3 separate regions of the Homo sapiens genome follow, and all the other regions are linked to region 2. Evidence: promoter capture Hi-C in human tissues and cell types (Jung and others, 2019). All regions are on one chromosome and are shown on one strand. Each heading gives the region's core, a stretch centred on a gene start or on the middle of the fragment in contact. The rest is flanking DNA. Distances are from core to core; before and after follow the strand shown.

Region 1 (4,843 bases), core at 218-2,717, 190 kb after region 2:
CCTCGATTTGGAGGCGTTGTTATCCCAGCCTGATGTTTGGGGTCGCGTTCCAGCGGTGATCGCGGGAGTGTTCGCGCCCCGGCCCATAGAGGGCGTGCCAGCCCTGGACCCGCAGGTTTCCCTCCAGTGACCACGACTGGAGGCGCCGTCGGGCCTCAAACAGCAGGGGACATACGAGGCTACGACCTCCAGGGAGCTCTGCCCCACCCCCTCCCTCCGCCCTTGGAGGCACCCGCCGGATCGGACTCACTCGAGCTGGTAGGAGAAGCTGTAGTTGCCCGGGCCCACCCCAGCGCTCGCCGCTTCCTCCCAGAAACACACCAAGTCCTCCAACCGCTCGGTGAAGCACAGAAGCTCTTCGGGCCCCCGGGCCGCCAGCAAGGCCGCTGGGGAGGGGCGACAAAGGAAGGGCATGGGGGTCTGAGCTCTATCCTCGGGAGACAGCCCCCTCCTCTTCCCTCCCGCAGCCTGGGCGGACCCGATAAGAAAAAAGCCCCGCCCTGCCATCTTCCCAAGCGGGTCCCTTGGAGGGGTCCGCAGAGGTGGTGCCCCCCTAATTCCCAGGGGCAAGTTTCTCGCCTTACTGTCCCCCGCCGTCACCACTGGCGCACACCTGCCCACCCAGCGGCCAGCTGAGCTGGGCGCGGCGTTCAAGACCTCGAGCTCGGGACTGCCAGCCCCGCCCCAGCCTAGGACACGCGCGCGGCTGGGGGTGTGTGCGGAGAGGCGGGCCCCCTATCGGCCCCGGCAGGCTCCCCGCCAACCGATAGCGCCAACCGTGCCCCCCGCCTCCCTCCCTCCACCGGGCCGGGCAAGTGATCTGGCGCCCTCACACAAACCGTGTTTACAGTAGCCTGTGGCTTGGCCCCTCTAACTCGGACCCGGGCTTTACCCTCCCTCCCCTAGGGAGGGTCGGCTTGGTCCCCACCCCCCAGGGACCTTAGCACCAAGTCAGCCCCCTTAGGATTTAGCATGTCCCAGACTCCCTGAAAAGGTAAAACGGGAATGTTAAGCCCACTCTAGCTCTTGCCCGGGACGCGATCAGGAGTCTTGGATCCTAACATACCCCACCCCGCCCCCCACCCATCCAGGACCCAGTCTAAGGGTTCAGATGCCAGCTTGGCCCCCAGGACCCGGTCAGGAAGTCCAGAAACAGGCATGGCCCCCAGGACCTAGGCTGGGAGTTCAGGCCCCAGCATGGTCCTGCAGGCTCCAGCGTAGGGGTCCACACGCAGCTCATCCTTACCTTTGCTCTCGAACTTGGGGTCCGGGAGGTTAGGCGGGGGCGCCCAGGCGGCCCCAGCGAGCAGGAGACAAAGGGAGCCGACCTGGGGCCAGAGGGACGCCCCGAGGTGGTCCATGATACAGCCCCCGCCACGGGGAGCCCAGGGCTCCTGCCCCTCCGTCCCCCGCCCCCGGCACAGTCCACAGCTGGGTCAGCAGCTGCCTCCGCCGGACGCAGCTGACCAGGCCCTTCCCGACCAGGCGCCTCTAAGTGGCAGATCCCCGAGGGGGCGGGGCCAGCACTCAGCCTGGGTAGAGATAAGTGCCTGGCGGGAGGAGGCAGGGGCCCTTCCCGAGCCCAGAGGCCGCTTGGGGGCAGGGGAGGGAGTTGGGCCGCAACAGCTCCCGTTCTGGCTTCAGACACACGTTTTTTTTTTCTTTGTGGCCCTGGACAGGTGACTTACCTTACCTGAGCTTCAGACTTCTCATCTGTAAAATCTAGCCTGGCACATAGCGAACATTCCAAAAAATGTACCTACTGATTTTATCGCAGAAATCAGCATCTCTTCCCAGCCTGGAAATAAATAAAAATTATTTTCTCTCTCTCTCTCTCTCTCTCTCTCTCTCTCTCTCCTTTCCTTCCTTCCTTCCTTCCTTCCTTCCTTCCTTCCTTCCTTCCTTCCTTCCCTCCTTCCCTCCTTCCCCCTCTCTCTCTCTGTCTCAGGGTGTTGCTCTGTCACCCAGGCTGGAGTGCAGTGGCACAATCATAGCTCACTGCAGCCTCTGGACTGAAGCAATCTTCCCACTGCACCTGGCTAATTTTTAAAATTCTTTGTAGAGATGGGATCCCACTATGTTGTCCAGGCTGGTCTTGAAATCCCGGACTTAAGCAATCCTCCAGCCTCCATCTCCCAATGTGCTGGGAATACCAGCACGAGCCACTGAAGCCGGCCAATAATAATCCTTGCAACGACCAGCAGTTGAGTGTTTGCACAGTGCTAGGCCATGCTCCTGGGCAGTATGCATAATATGTGAGATTTTCATTTACGAATTTTTGGGAAAAAAATTTTTACCACCCACATTTTTATTCTCTTGGGCTGGGCCCGGTGGCTCACGCCTATAATCCCAGCACTTTGGGAGGCCGACGTGGGCAAATCACTTGAGGTCAGGAGTTTGAGACCAGCCTGGCCAACATGGTGAAATCCCATCTCTACTAAAAATACAAAAATTAGCCAGGTGTGGTGGCGTGTGCCTGTAATCCCAGCTACTCAGGAGGCTGAGGCATGAGAACTGCTTCAGTCTGGGAGATGAAGATTGCAGTGAGCCAAGATCATGCCACTGCAACTCCAGCCTGGGCAACAGAGTGAGACTGCATCTCAAAAAATAATAATAATTGGCTGGGCGCGGTGGCTCATACCTGTAATCCCAACACTTTGGGAGGCCGAGACAGGCGGATCATGAGGTCAGGAGTTCGAGACCAGCCTGGGCAACATGGCGAAACCACGTCTCTACTAAAAATACAAAAATTAGCCAGGCGTAGGCCGGGCGCGGTGGCTCACGCCTGTAATCCCAGCACTTTGGGAGGCCGAGGTGGGCAGATCACGAGGTCAAGAGATCAAGACCATCCTGGCCAACATGGTAAAACCCCATCTCTACCAAAAATACAAAAATTAGATGGGCGTGGTGCTGCATGCCTGTAATCCCAGCTACTTGGGAGGCTGCAGGAGAATCGCTTGAACCCAGGAGCCGGAGGTTTCAGTGAGCCGATATTGTGCCACTGCACTCCAGCCTGGTGACAGAGCGGGACTCCGTCTCAAAAAATATATATATATATTCGAGCGTGGTGGTGGGTGCCTGTAATCCCAGCTACTCAGGAGGCTGAGGCAGGAGAATTGCTTGAAACCAGAAGGCAGAGGTTGCAGTGAGCTGAGATCACACCATTGCACTCCAGGCTGTGCAACAAGATTGAAACTCTGTTTCAAAAAAATAAATAAATAGTCCATGCACAGTGGCTCATGCCTGTAATCCCAGCACTTTGGGAGGCCGAGGTGGGTGGATCACAAGGTCAGGAGATCGAGACCATCCTGGCTAACACAGTGAAACCCTGTCTTTACTAAAAATAGAAAAAATTAGCCGGGCGTGGTGGCGGGTGCCTGTAGTCCCAGCTACTCGGGAGGCTGAGGCAGGAGAATGGTGTGAACCCAGTGGGTGGAGCTTGCAGTGAGCCAAGATTGTGCCACTGCACTCCAGCCTGGGCAACAGAGCGAGACTCCGTCTCAAAAAAATAAATAAATAAAATAAATAAATAAATATAAATAAATATAAATAAAATAAAATGGCAATACTCCTACCCTGTTTCTATTAAGCAGGTGGGTTTTTTGTTTTTGTTTGTAGCCAATGTGCTTATTGTCACCTGACATGTATTTGATGTTTTGTTATTGATTCGCTGCCCTTACTATTCCATGAAAGCAGGTTTTTTTTTTTTTTTTTAGATGGTGTCTTGCTCTGTTGCCCATGTTGGAGTGCAATGGCACAATCTTGGCTCACTGCAGCCTTCGCCTCCTGGATTCAAGCGATTCTCCTTCCTCAGACTCCAGGGTAGTTGGGACTACAGGTGTGTGCCACCACACCCAGCTAATTTTTGTAGTTTTAGTTGAAACGGGGTTTTGCTGTGTTGGCCAGGCTTGTCTTGAGCTCCTGACCTCAAGTGATCCCCCCGCCTCAGCCTCCCAAAGTGCTGGGATTACTGGCATGAGTCACTGAGCCCGGCCAGGGATTGATTGATTGATTGATTGATTGATTTGTGGAGTCTTGCTCTTGTTGCCCAGGCTGCAGTACAATGGCATGATCTTGGTTTACTGCAACCTCCGCCTCCTGGGTTCAAGTGATTCTCCTGCCTCTGCCTCCCGGGTAGCTGGGATTACAGGCACCCGCCACCATGCCCGGCTATTTTTTTGTATTTTTAGTAGAGACGGGGTTTCGCCATGTTGGCCAGGCTGGTCTCGAACTCCTGACTTTGTGACCCGCCCGCCTTGGCCTCCCAAAGTGCTGGGATTACAGGCATGAGCCACCGCGCCCAGCCTCAGGCAGGGATTTTTTTTTACCCTTTTGTTCTTTGCTGTATCCCTAGCATATAGAACAGGGCCTGGAGCACAGTAGAAGCTCAAGAAATATTTTGTGGAGTAAAAGATTAGAGATGTAGAGAAAATCAAGCTGAGAGAGGTAGAGAAACAGCTGATCTCGTGTTAGCCACTGGGTACAACTGTGCCTGCGTAACCCTGCGCTTTTAAAAAACGGAAGTCAACGCAAATCTCTTCCTCAGGAAATTGATATTTAGACTGTGCATGTATGTGAGAGGGAGGTGGAACAAACAAGATGGACACCTGTTTCAAAATTTGGTCACAATAAATTGTTATGAATGGCAAACGGGCCCCAGAGTTAAATGCATGTTTTCTGGAGTTGGATCAATATTTGAACAGCACCCACTTACCATGGGACCTTGAGTAAGTTACTTAACCCTCCCTTGCCTGAAGCCTGGCTGACATGGTGAGACCTTGTCTCTATAAAACACGTTTTTTTTTTGTTGTTGTTTTTTGTTTTTTGTTTTTTTAAGTAAGCC
Region 2 (4,431 bases), core at 424-2,923:
AGGCTCACCCCTGAGCAACAGAAAGTTGATTGAAAATATTTTCTGGCCACCAAAGAGAGATGGAGAAGCAGGGAGCAAGCGGGATTGGAGCAGGATTGGAATAGCCGAGCGGGGTGGGCTGGGGGTGGGGGAAGTGAGGGTGCTGCTGGGTAAATAGTATAGTAACAGTAATACTAACATCAACTCTTTTTTTTTTTTTTTTCTGAGACGGAGTTTTGCTCTTGTCGCCCAGGCTGGAGTGCAATGGCGCGATCTCAGCTCACGGCAACCTCTGCCTCCCAGGTTCAAGCGATTCTCCTGCCTCAGCCTCCTGAGTAGCTGGGATTACAGGCACCTGCCACCACGCCTAGCTAATTCTGTATTTTTAGTAGAGATGGTGTTTCTCCATGTTGGTCAGGCTGGTCTCGAACTCCTGACCTCAGGTGATCCGCCCGCCTTGGCCTCCCAAAGTGCTGGGATTACAGGCATGAGCCACTGCACCCAGCCTAACATCAACTCTTTTAATTGTCATGACAATTCTATGAGATGGGCACTTATCGCCCCGTTTCACAGACAGGGGATGCAGAGGGTACAGAAAGGTACAGTGGCTTCCTCGGGGTCACTGGGGCCATGGGGAAGTGGCTGGGCCTGAACATGAACCTAAGCCTGGTGGATCCCCCCACTGCCCACCAAGCCACCACCCTCAGACTCCACATCAGATATCTCTACCCGTTTCCCAGATACGGAGACTGAGGTCTGAGGGTACTCAGTCATCTCACCGCCCTCGATGAGGACCAGCACGTCCCGAGTAAGGGGAAGAGAAAGGAGACGAGGGGGTGTGGTGGGGGAGATGGATGTCTGTGGCTGAGACCCTTCTCTCGCCATGGGACCCCTGGGGAATGGGGAAGGGGTGACAGGATAAGACAGAGATGGAGAGACTGGAGCCTATAAGAGGGGACAGGTAGGGAGCGCAGGGAAGGGGCGCGGGTCTCCCCAACCCACCACCCAAGACCGGCCTGCACATCGCGGAGGTCGGTGGTGGTGGTGGGGGGGGGTCTTCCCGCCCCAAACTCGGGGTGGGGGGAGGCGAGAAGGACCCCGCCCCGTGCAGAGAGGGGGCGGGGCCTGTGGGATCCCGGGCTAATGGCAAACAGCTGCCGCTCCCCACGCCGGCCCAGCCGCCAAGCCCAGGCCCAGCCCGGCCGGACGCCCGGCCGCCTTCCCGCCGTCTGGGGCATGGCCGCGGAGGAGGGCGAGGGGGGACAGTGCGGGGAGAGGGCAGAGCCGGGGAGGAACAGAGGCAGAAAGTGGGACAGAGACAGGGGAGAGCGGGCAGAGGGGAGCCAAGACAGGAGAAACGGGCAGGGCACGAGGAATCGATGGGGGGTACTGGGAGGAATCGATGGGGGTATGGGGTCAAAGACGAGGAGGGGGCAGGGACGCGGGGACAGACACTCCAAGTCTGGAAAGTTTGGGCACAGAAGGTGGAGTTGGAGGCAGCGGCTCGTTGAGACCAGCGAGGTCGTGTCCCAGGGTTGGAGGCGGGGGGTAGGGTAGTAGGTGTGTGTGGAGGGGGTGCACACTCGATCCCCGAACCAGACTTGAACCCCTACCCAGCCCCGGGTCCCACTCGCCTTGCGCGCTCCGGCCGCTGCCTTCCCTGGGTCCCGCCGCCCGAGCGTCTTCGCGCGCGCCGCAGCCTGGGCGCCCGGCCCTCGGAGGTGGCTCCGCCCGCACCACGCCCCCTCCGGCTGGTCCCGCCCCCCCAGCCGGCACCGCCCCCTCCAGCCGCCCGGGCGCCCCGGCCGCGGTGGGGGGTGGGGATGGAGAGACGCTGGTTGGAGACTGGATCTCACCTGGACAGCAGGTGTGTGTGCGCGCCGGGGTGTCCGGCCTCGTCCTTCCTTCCTCCCTAAGTCCCCGAGGCAGGGTCCTCCCACTGCCGGCCTCCCCCCCACCGCCTGCTGTCCCTGGGCCGCTGCGGGGGGCGGAACGGCTCGGCGGCGGGAGGGGGTGGAGCTGGCCGGGGCCCAGCTCGGGGAGGGCGCGCGGGGCGGGCGCGGCAGCGGGAGGTCACCCCTCCCCCAGGCGGCCCAGGGCTGGAAGCGGCCCAGCGCAGTCCTGGCACACGGTGGCGTGACCGCCGCGCGAGAAGGGAGGCTGCAGAGTCCTGGGCGCCGGCGCCAGCCAGACCTGCATTCCCATCCCAGACCCACCAAACTTTTGCTGCTCTGTGCCTCAGTTTATTCATCTGTAAAATGGAGATGATCATGTTAGCTACCTGATAGGAGCGTTGAGAAGATTCACTGACCATTAGGAAGGGGCCTAACCATCAGGAAGGAGGCCCTTCGGGTTAAAAACTCTCATAAATGGAGTGGCCTACTTTTGCAGAGATCTTTCTGGGAGCCCTTTTAGTACACAGCCAGCCACTCAGCAAGGGCTTAATAAATATTATTAAGCCGGCGAGGTGGCTCACACCTGTAATCTCAGTGCTTAGGGAGGCCAAGGCAAGAGGACTGCTTGAACTCAGGAGTTCGAGACCAGCCTGGGCAACATAGCAAGACCCTGTCTATGCAAAAAAATTTTTAAGTGAAAAAAAATTAGGCCAGGCGCAGTGGCTCATGCCTGTAATCGTAGCACTTTGGGAGGCCAAGGTGGGCGGATTATTTGAGCCAAGGAGTTGGAGACCAGCTTTGGCAATATGGTAAGACGCCATCTCTACAAAAAACAAAATACAAAAAACCACCTGGGGCCGAGAAATGGCTCATGCCTGTAATCCCAGCACTTTGGGAGTCCGAGGTGGGTGGATCATCTGAGGTCAGGAGTTCAAGACCAGCCTGGCCAACATGGTGAAACCCCTTCTCTACTAAAAATACAAAAACTATCCTGGCATGGTGGTGCACATCTGTAATCCCAGCTACTCGGGAGGCTGAGGTATGAGAATAACTTGAATCTGGGAGGTGGAGGTTGCCGTGAGCCGAGATTGCACCACTGCACTGCAGCCTGGGTGACAGAGTGAAACTCTGTCTAAAAAAAAAAAAAAGAAAAAGAAAAAAAAGCCAGGCACAGTGGCATGTGCCTATAATCTCTGCTACTCAGGAGGCTTGAGCCCCGGAGTTTGAGGCTGCAGTGAGCTATGACTGTGACACTGCATTCCAGCCTGGGGGACTGAGTGAGAGCGTCTGTTAAAAACAAACAAACAAAAACCAGGTATTGTTATTGCAGGTAAGCATGTGACATTATTTGTGTGTTGCCTTCCCTACTAGAACATCAGCTCCACAAGGGCAGGAATTTTTGCCTGTTGTCACCACGATGTCCCTGGCACCCAGTATGTTCTTGGTGTCCCCATTGATGATGCAGGGATGTGTGGATATGGGGCAGTGGACTGTGAGCATGTGATGAGCATGTGACCCAGCCCCTAGTGACCGCACCACATGGCACAGGTTGCTTATAAAAACCATTTTAAATTAAAAAAGGGAGGAAGCATCAGTGCACACAGATGGGGACACAGGGGCAGAGGGCCCAGCCCCAAGTACAGTGTGGTCACCCCACAGCCCAGTGGGCACCAGGGCAGACTCCCCTCGCAGCACAGACAGCTGAGGCCCGGGTGCTGGTTCCTCTAGGTACAGCTTTGGTCCTTGTGGGCTCAGAGGTCTGCCTTTCGGAAACTTGCTCTGTTCAAGGAGTTCCTGGAAAAAGAATGAGGGTGGGTCAGCATGGCCATGGGGCCCCCAACTCCATAGACCTCCCAGCCCACATCCTCTTCCTCCTCCTCCTCGTCTTCCTCCAAGGATCCTTCTGGGATCTCTCCTGTCCCTGATCTGGCTGTGGGATTCTCCGATTCTCTCTTGCAGTCCACCACGGAAGGTATGAATCATCCCCATTTTACAGATGTAGAAACTGAGGCTCAGAAAGATGAATTCATGTATCTGGGAAATGACTGCTCAGAGCCTGCCCTGCCTTTGTACATCTGGATGACATATTCAGATGCTTATGCAAAATTGAAGCCACCGCAGCCAGGCGTGGTGGTGGCTCATGCTGTAATTCCAGCACTTTAGGAGGGCAAAGCGGATGGATCACCTGAGATCAGGAGTTCGAGACCAGTCTGGCCAACATGGTGAAACCCTGTCTCTACTAAAAATACAAAACATTAGCCAGGCGTGGTGGCAGATGCCTGTAATCCCAGTTACTCAGGAGGCTGAGGCAGGAGACTCGCTTGAATCTGGGAGGCGGAGGTTGCAGTGAGCCAAGACTGTGCCAACTGCACTCCAGCCTGGGCAACAGAGGGAGAGTCTCTCAAAAAAAAAAACAAAAAAAAAACCGGAAACAAAACAAAGTCCAAGCTACCAGCAAACATGTTGCTGTGTATGTGTACAACAGCCCCCATCCTGTACCTGTCCTGGTCTGCCTCTGCATCCCCTCTCTAGTCTCTAGGATGGGGGCACTAGGTCA
Region 3 (4,552 bases), core at 1,435-3,934, 180 kb before region 2:
GGAACTCATTCATCCCCCATCCCCAGTACAGTACAGGCCGTTCACGAGGGTTCACGAGGCCGTTCACGAGGGAGGCCCCCATGACACAGATGCCTCCCACCAGGCCCCACCTCCAACATTGGAAATCAGACTTCAGCATGAGGTTTGGAGGTGCCAGATACCCAAACTATAGCAGCAAACGTCAGATAAGTCTTGCCTGAAAAAATAATTACATGAGAGTTGCCAAATACATGGTTACCTGTTTCTGTCCGCTCTTCTCTACAAATTAATTGGAATTCCACCGTTAGGAAGAGCTTTCCCGTCTCCCCCATGTGCTTGTTTGGGTAATTATTATATCAGTGTGGGCGTGAACAAATATTATTTATTTTGTTGCTTCAGTTTTTTTCAGATTTGGCCTGGGAGAATTCTCCCTGGAAGAATTGTGTCTTCTCTATGTATTCAGTCATTTGTTAATATGAGTATGGACCCACGGATATTTATTTAGTACTCCAGGCTACGCACCAGTGGCTGGGTTTTTTTTGTTTTGTGGCTCAAATCCATCCAGCTTTGGCCACTGGGAGTGCTTTCAGTTGGCTCTTCTGTCCTTTGACACGCCCCCAGCATCGGGTGAATTTTGAGGACTTTCTTGCTTTTTGGCACCAAGAGATGCTGCAGGCTCATGTAGTCTATTTCCCGCCCACTCCCTCAAATCAGCCATTTCTCCAAGGAGCCCTGGTTTCCCTTCTTACAGAATGGTTTTGGGAACCAAGACCTGGGTCCTGGATGGGCCTGTTGCTTCTGGGGTGTCATTGCTCCTGGGGCCCTCTCAGTGGTCAGTGCTAGGAGATTCATGTGCGCGTGCTGATGCTTTGTGCACGTATCGTCTAAAAGGCCTTCTCTGCCTCGGCATCTGTTTCTGTGTTAAGCTGAACGTGAGTTCATACCACTGTCTGCGGCTCTGAGTGAGGACCACAGGTTCCTTCTCACACTTCCACCCTGTGTGTGCGCCCATTCTCAGCTTCCGTGGACAACAGTTTCAGAGTAGTGAGCCGGTACCTCCGGGAAGCATCTTGAGCCACTAGAGCGCAGGCCTTGGGGCCAGTTCCTTGTGTGTTCAGACCTCCAGATTGCAGTCAGATTCCATTTCCAGGGTGATAGAGGTCACCTTCTTCCCCTACTTCAGTGAGGTTGTGAGGTGGGTGCTCCTGCAGTCTTTCCCACTGCGCCCCACCTGGGCAAGCGTCCATGCTGTGGAACGCCAGCTCCTGCAGGCCAGAAGAGGGCCCGCGCGCTAGGAAATGTTTACGGCGTATGGGCATCCGGCTGTGCCGGCCCTCTCACTGGGAATTGCTGCCTCCTGCCATGAGCTGCTTGTCCTGCCTCCGTTTGGACCTCTGTCTCTGGGACCTGTCCCCTCAGTCCCCTCCTGACCCTTGCTCCTGGCTCTTCTCCCTCCCAGTGCAGATGCTCCGCACACCTCCGGCTTCTCCCTTGGTGCGCTGACTGTCCCCATCACTCCAGGGAGGTTTCACTGTTCCTGAGTCAGCGGAAGCACAGGGTCAGGCCCTACGGGCCAGGTCCGGTGGCTCCAAGATGCCATCAGGGACCCAGCCTCCCCCAGGTTTCTGCCCAGTCATTCTTGGGTGACTCCAACCCTCAGGCTCCTTACCTCATGGTTGCAGGACGGCTGCACTGCCTCCCTCGCCTCATGCAGGAGAGTGGGCAGGAAAGAGTTCTAGGAGAGTGGGCAGGGCAAAAGGCAGCAGAAGCGCAAGGCTGCTGAGCCTCTGCTCCCCACGCTTCTTCAGGAACTCTCCCCAGCCTTCACCACAGCCATGCGTCCTTCTGTCTATTGGCTGTGCCGCCTGGTTGGCTGTGGCTTCCAGCGGGGCTGGAGATGGGTTCATGGTGGACACAGCACCTCCCTCGTGGAGCTGCTTGGGGGCAAACCACGAGTAGTCCCTGGGACTCCAGCTTCGAGCCCTGTCTTTACGGACCACCCCGTCTAGACTTTCTGAGTGGCTTCCCTCCCCCACTGAAAACTCCCTGCCCCAGAGTTCCTCCCAGAGCCCGTCCCCTTTGGGACTCAGCTTTATTACCGCCTCCACCCTCTCCTCAGTCTCTAGGCTGTCGGTCTCAGGTGACTCACCCCTCCCCACTGCATTCTGCCTGCCCCCATGTCCTCCCTCATTCCAGCCCTGGTCATCCCACAGGGGAACAGCCACGAGTTGCCGCTCCCTCCCATCCCTGTCCTCCCGCCTGCCACCTGAGCCAGGCCCCGCCTCGCCCCTCACTGTCCTCGTTCTCTCTCACAGTCAGGAACCTTCCGTGGCTGGAGGGTGGCAGAAAGACTGTTTGGTGTCTCCTATATCCTCAGGTCTCCACAGCACTGTTGCTAGCCTGGCTCTGGGCGTGAAGCCTGTGCTCTGAAGCTGCATTTTCCCGGCAGCAGGTCCAGGCTTCCCCAGCCCTGGCAGCATTGTTTCTGTCCCCCATCACATCTCTGTGTCCCTACTTCTCACTCTAAAGGGCCTTGCCCTCTTTTCCCAGTGGCCTCCCTTCTGTCCTCTGAGGCAGAGCCCTTCACGTCCTCGCCAGTCTCTCTTCCTCCCTCCCTCCCTCAGCTGCCCTAAACACAGTTTCTCTGCCCACTCGGAGGGCTGTGGCCATGTTGGCCTCGCCCCTGACAGCCAGTGGCTATGGGTTTGCACAGTGAGCCATTGATGAGAGACCGGCACTTGACTCTCATTTCCTTGTTCCATCAGAACGCTGTCCAACTGGGCGTACGAGTTTGACAAGTGGGCCCCCTCCGTGGTGAAGGTGTCTTACAAGGTAGGTCACAGCCACTGAGGTTTCCTCTCTTGCTACGGAGGTGCAGGCGGTGGTGGGCAGGACGTCCACACATACCTCTGGACAGTGAACCTGAGAATGCTGGGTCTCCAGTCGCATGGAGTCTCCAGGACAGCCTGGAACTCCAGTCACATGGATCCGGGAGTTTGGACTGGGCAGGGACAGGGCAGATTAGCTCACTGGGGAGGAGACAGGAGTGAGCATGGTGGCCAGCACTCAGAGGCCAGCTCAGGCGCCTGAGATGGGGACCCAGGAAGAGGGGAGCCTGTCAGCCACCAGGAATGTGCAGATGGCGGTGCAGGCTGCGTGGTTCCCTCAGGCCCCGGCCGCCGCTGGCCTGCACTGCTTCCTCTTCCCCCTGCAGCGCGTGTTCTGCGTGGTGAGGTCTGGGGACGCGCCAGCGGCCCTGCCAGCCCCTTTCCCCACTACCCCTGTGAGGACGAGCCCTCCCGCCGTGTCACTGGGCAGTTGCAGGGGGTGCCTGTGCCCCTCTTGCCACCTGGCCACCCGGCTCCAAAAGCCGAGCTGTGCATCCTGCTTCCCTTGCAGGGATCCCCAGCAGCAAGACGGGCCTTTGTCCCCCAGCTCCGGAGTGGGAAGTTCAACGTCTTGCTGACGACGTACGAGTACATCATCAAAGACAAGCACATCCTCGCCAAGGTAACGTGTCCCTGTGGGAAATGCCAGGCCATGGGCCGAGTGCTCACACGTGGGTCACGCTGCCCGTCTCCTCCAAAGCCCCTACAAGTTTCTTCCCGGAGTCCCACCTGCATGTGCGTGAAGACAGCTGCCCTGTGTAGGGGAAAGGCCTAGGTGGGGGCGACCTCAGGTTTACCTCCCTAACTGTCTCCAGGCAGGCCCTGAGTCAGGCCCAGAAGCTGGGGCCATCTACACAGCATGCGCTCTGCCTCCTCTCGGGCCTTCTGCCCAGAGAGCCTCAGCACCAAGGCGTCTCCTGACCCGCCTACAGAGTCCCCATGGGGCCTTGGCCAGACCAGTCTTGTCCTCCTGTCTCATTGCCTTGGCCGTCCCTCCCTGGGGCCCTGGCTTCTCACCACAGGCCATGGGCTGAGATTCAGCATGTGGGGGAGAGCTCGAGGGCCAAATACCATGACTGCCTGCTGGCCTTGGGCAGCTGGTTCGGGCTGTTCTGTGAGGGTCCTACTGTCCTGGAAGCCTCTTCTGGGACGAAACTGTGAAGGGAGTCCCAGCGTGGCCATGACTGAGAATACGGCCCAGATAGAAAACAGACATAGCCCTCTGCCTCCAAAAACTCATGTTCCTCATTTGAGGAGGGGTAAAGATGTACCTGGTCTCACCCCTAAACATCCAGCTGAGTGAGTGTTGAACAGTAGAGAGTTTTTTGCGTTTTGGTTTTTTTTTTTTTGAGACCGAGTCTCGCTCTGTTGCCCATGCTGGAGTGCAGTGATGTGATCACAGCTCACTGCAGGCCTGACCTCCTGGCCTCAAGCGATCCTCCCACCTCACCCTCCTGAGTAGCTGGGACTACAGGTGTGCGCCACCACTCCCAGCTAACTTTTTTAAATTTATTTTTTATGGAGATGGGGTCTTGCTGTACTGCCCAGGCTGGTCTCAAACTCCTGGCCTCAAGGAATCCTCTCGCCTTGGCCTCACAAAGCACTGGGCAACTGTGTCTGGCCTAACAGTAGAGTTCTTGACCCAGGTATGGGGGGATGGAGGAGCTGTTTATGGGTGGCTCCGC

The links. Contacts are between HindIII fragments. The study calls those that stand out against the background at their distance.
Region 1: a contact is called between the fragment with the promoter of EPOR here and the fragment with the promoter of KANK2 in region 2, in 1 of the 25 tissues and cell types used here (dorsolateral prefrontal cortex).
Region 3: a fragment that was not itself captured here is called in contact with the fragment with the promoter of KANK2 in region 2 in 1 of the 25 tissues and cell types used here (lymphoblastoid cells).

Annotation. Positions count from the first base shown.
Region 1 is chr19:11,382,847-11,387,689 of GRCh38, forward strand. It overlaps EPOR (erythropoietin receptor), which reads right to left and starts at 1,468. Exons shown (of 8, transcript NM_000121.4): 1 at 1,247-1,468; 2 at 251-386. The coding sequence starts at 1,361. RefSeq lists a silencer at 708-767. The HindIII fragment of the contact is 19,405 bases long and covers 1-4,843 here.
Region 2 is chr19:11,195,872-11,200,302 of GRCh38, forward strand. It overlaps KANK2 (KN motif and ankyrin repeat domains 2), which reads right to left and starts at 1,674. Exons shown (of 13, transcript NM_001136191.3): 1 at 1,614-1,674. It overlaps DOCK6 (dedicator of cytokinesis 6), which reads right to left. Exons shown (of 48, transcript NM_020812.4): 48 at 3,424-3,668. The coding sequence ends at 3,626. RefSeq lists a silencer at 1,538-2,157. The HindIII fragment of the contact is 26,033 bases long and covers 1-4,431 here.
Region 3 is chr19:11,016,213-11,020,764 of GRCh38, forward strand. It overlaps SMARCA4 (SWI/SNF related BAF chromatin remodeling complex subunit ATPase 4), which reads left to right. Exons shown (of 35, transcript NM_003072.5): 17 at 2,745-2,811; 18 at 3,379-3,489. Among named protein-coding and RNA genes, the nearest start is that of SMARCA4, 57 kb to the left of the region's middle. The HindIII fragment of the contact is 9,794 bases long and covers 1-4,552 here.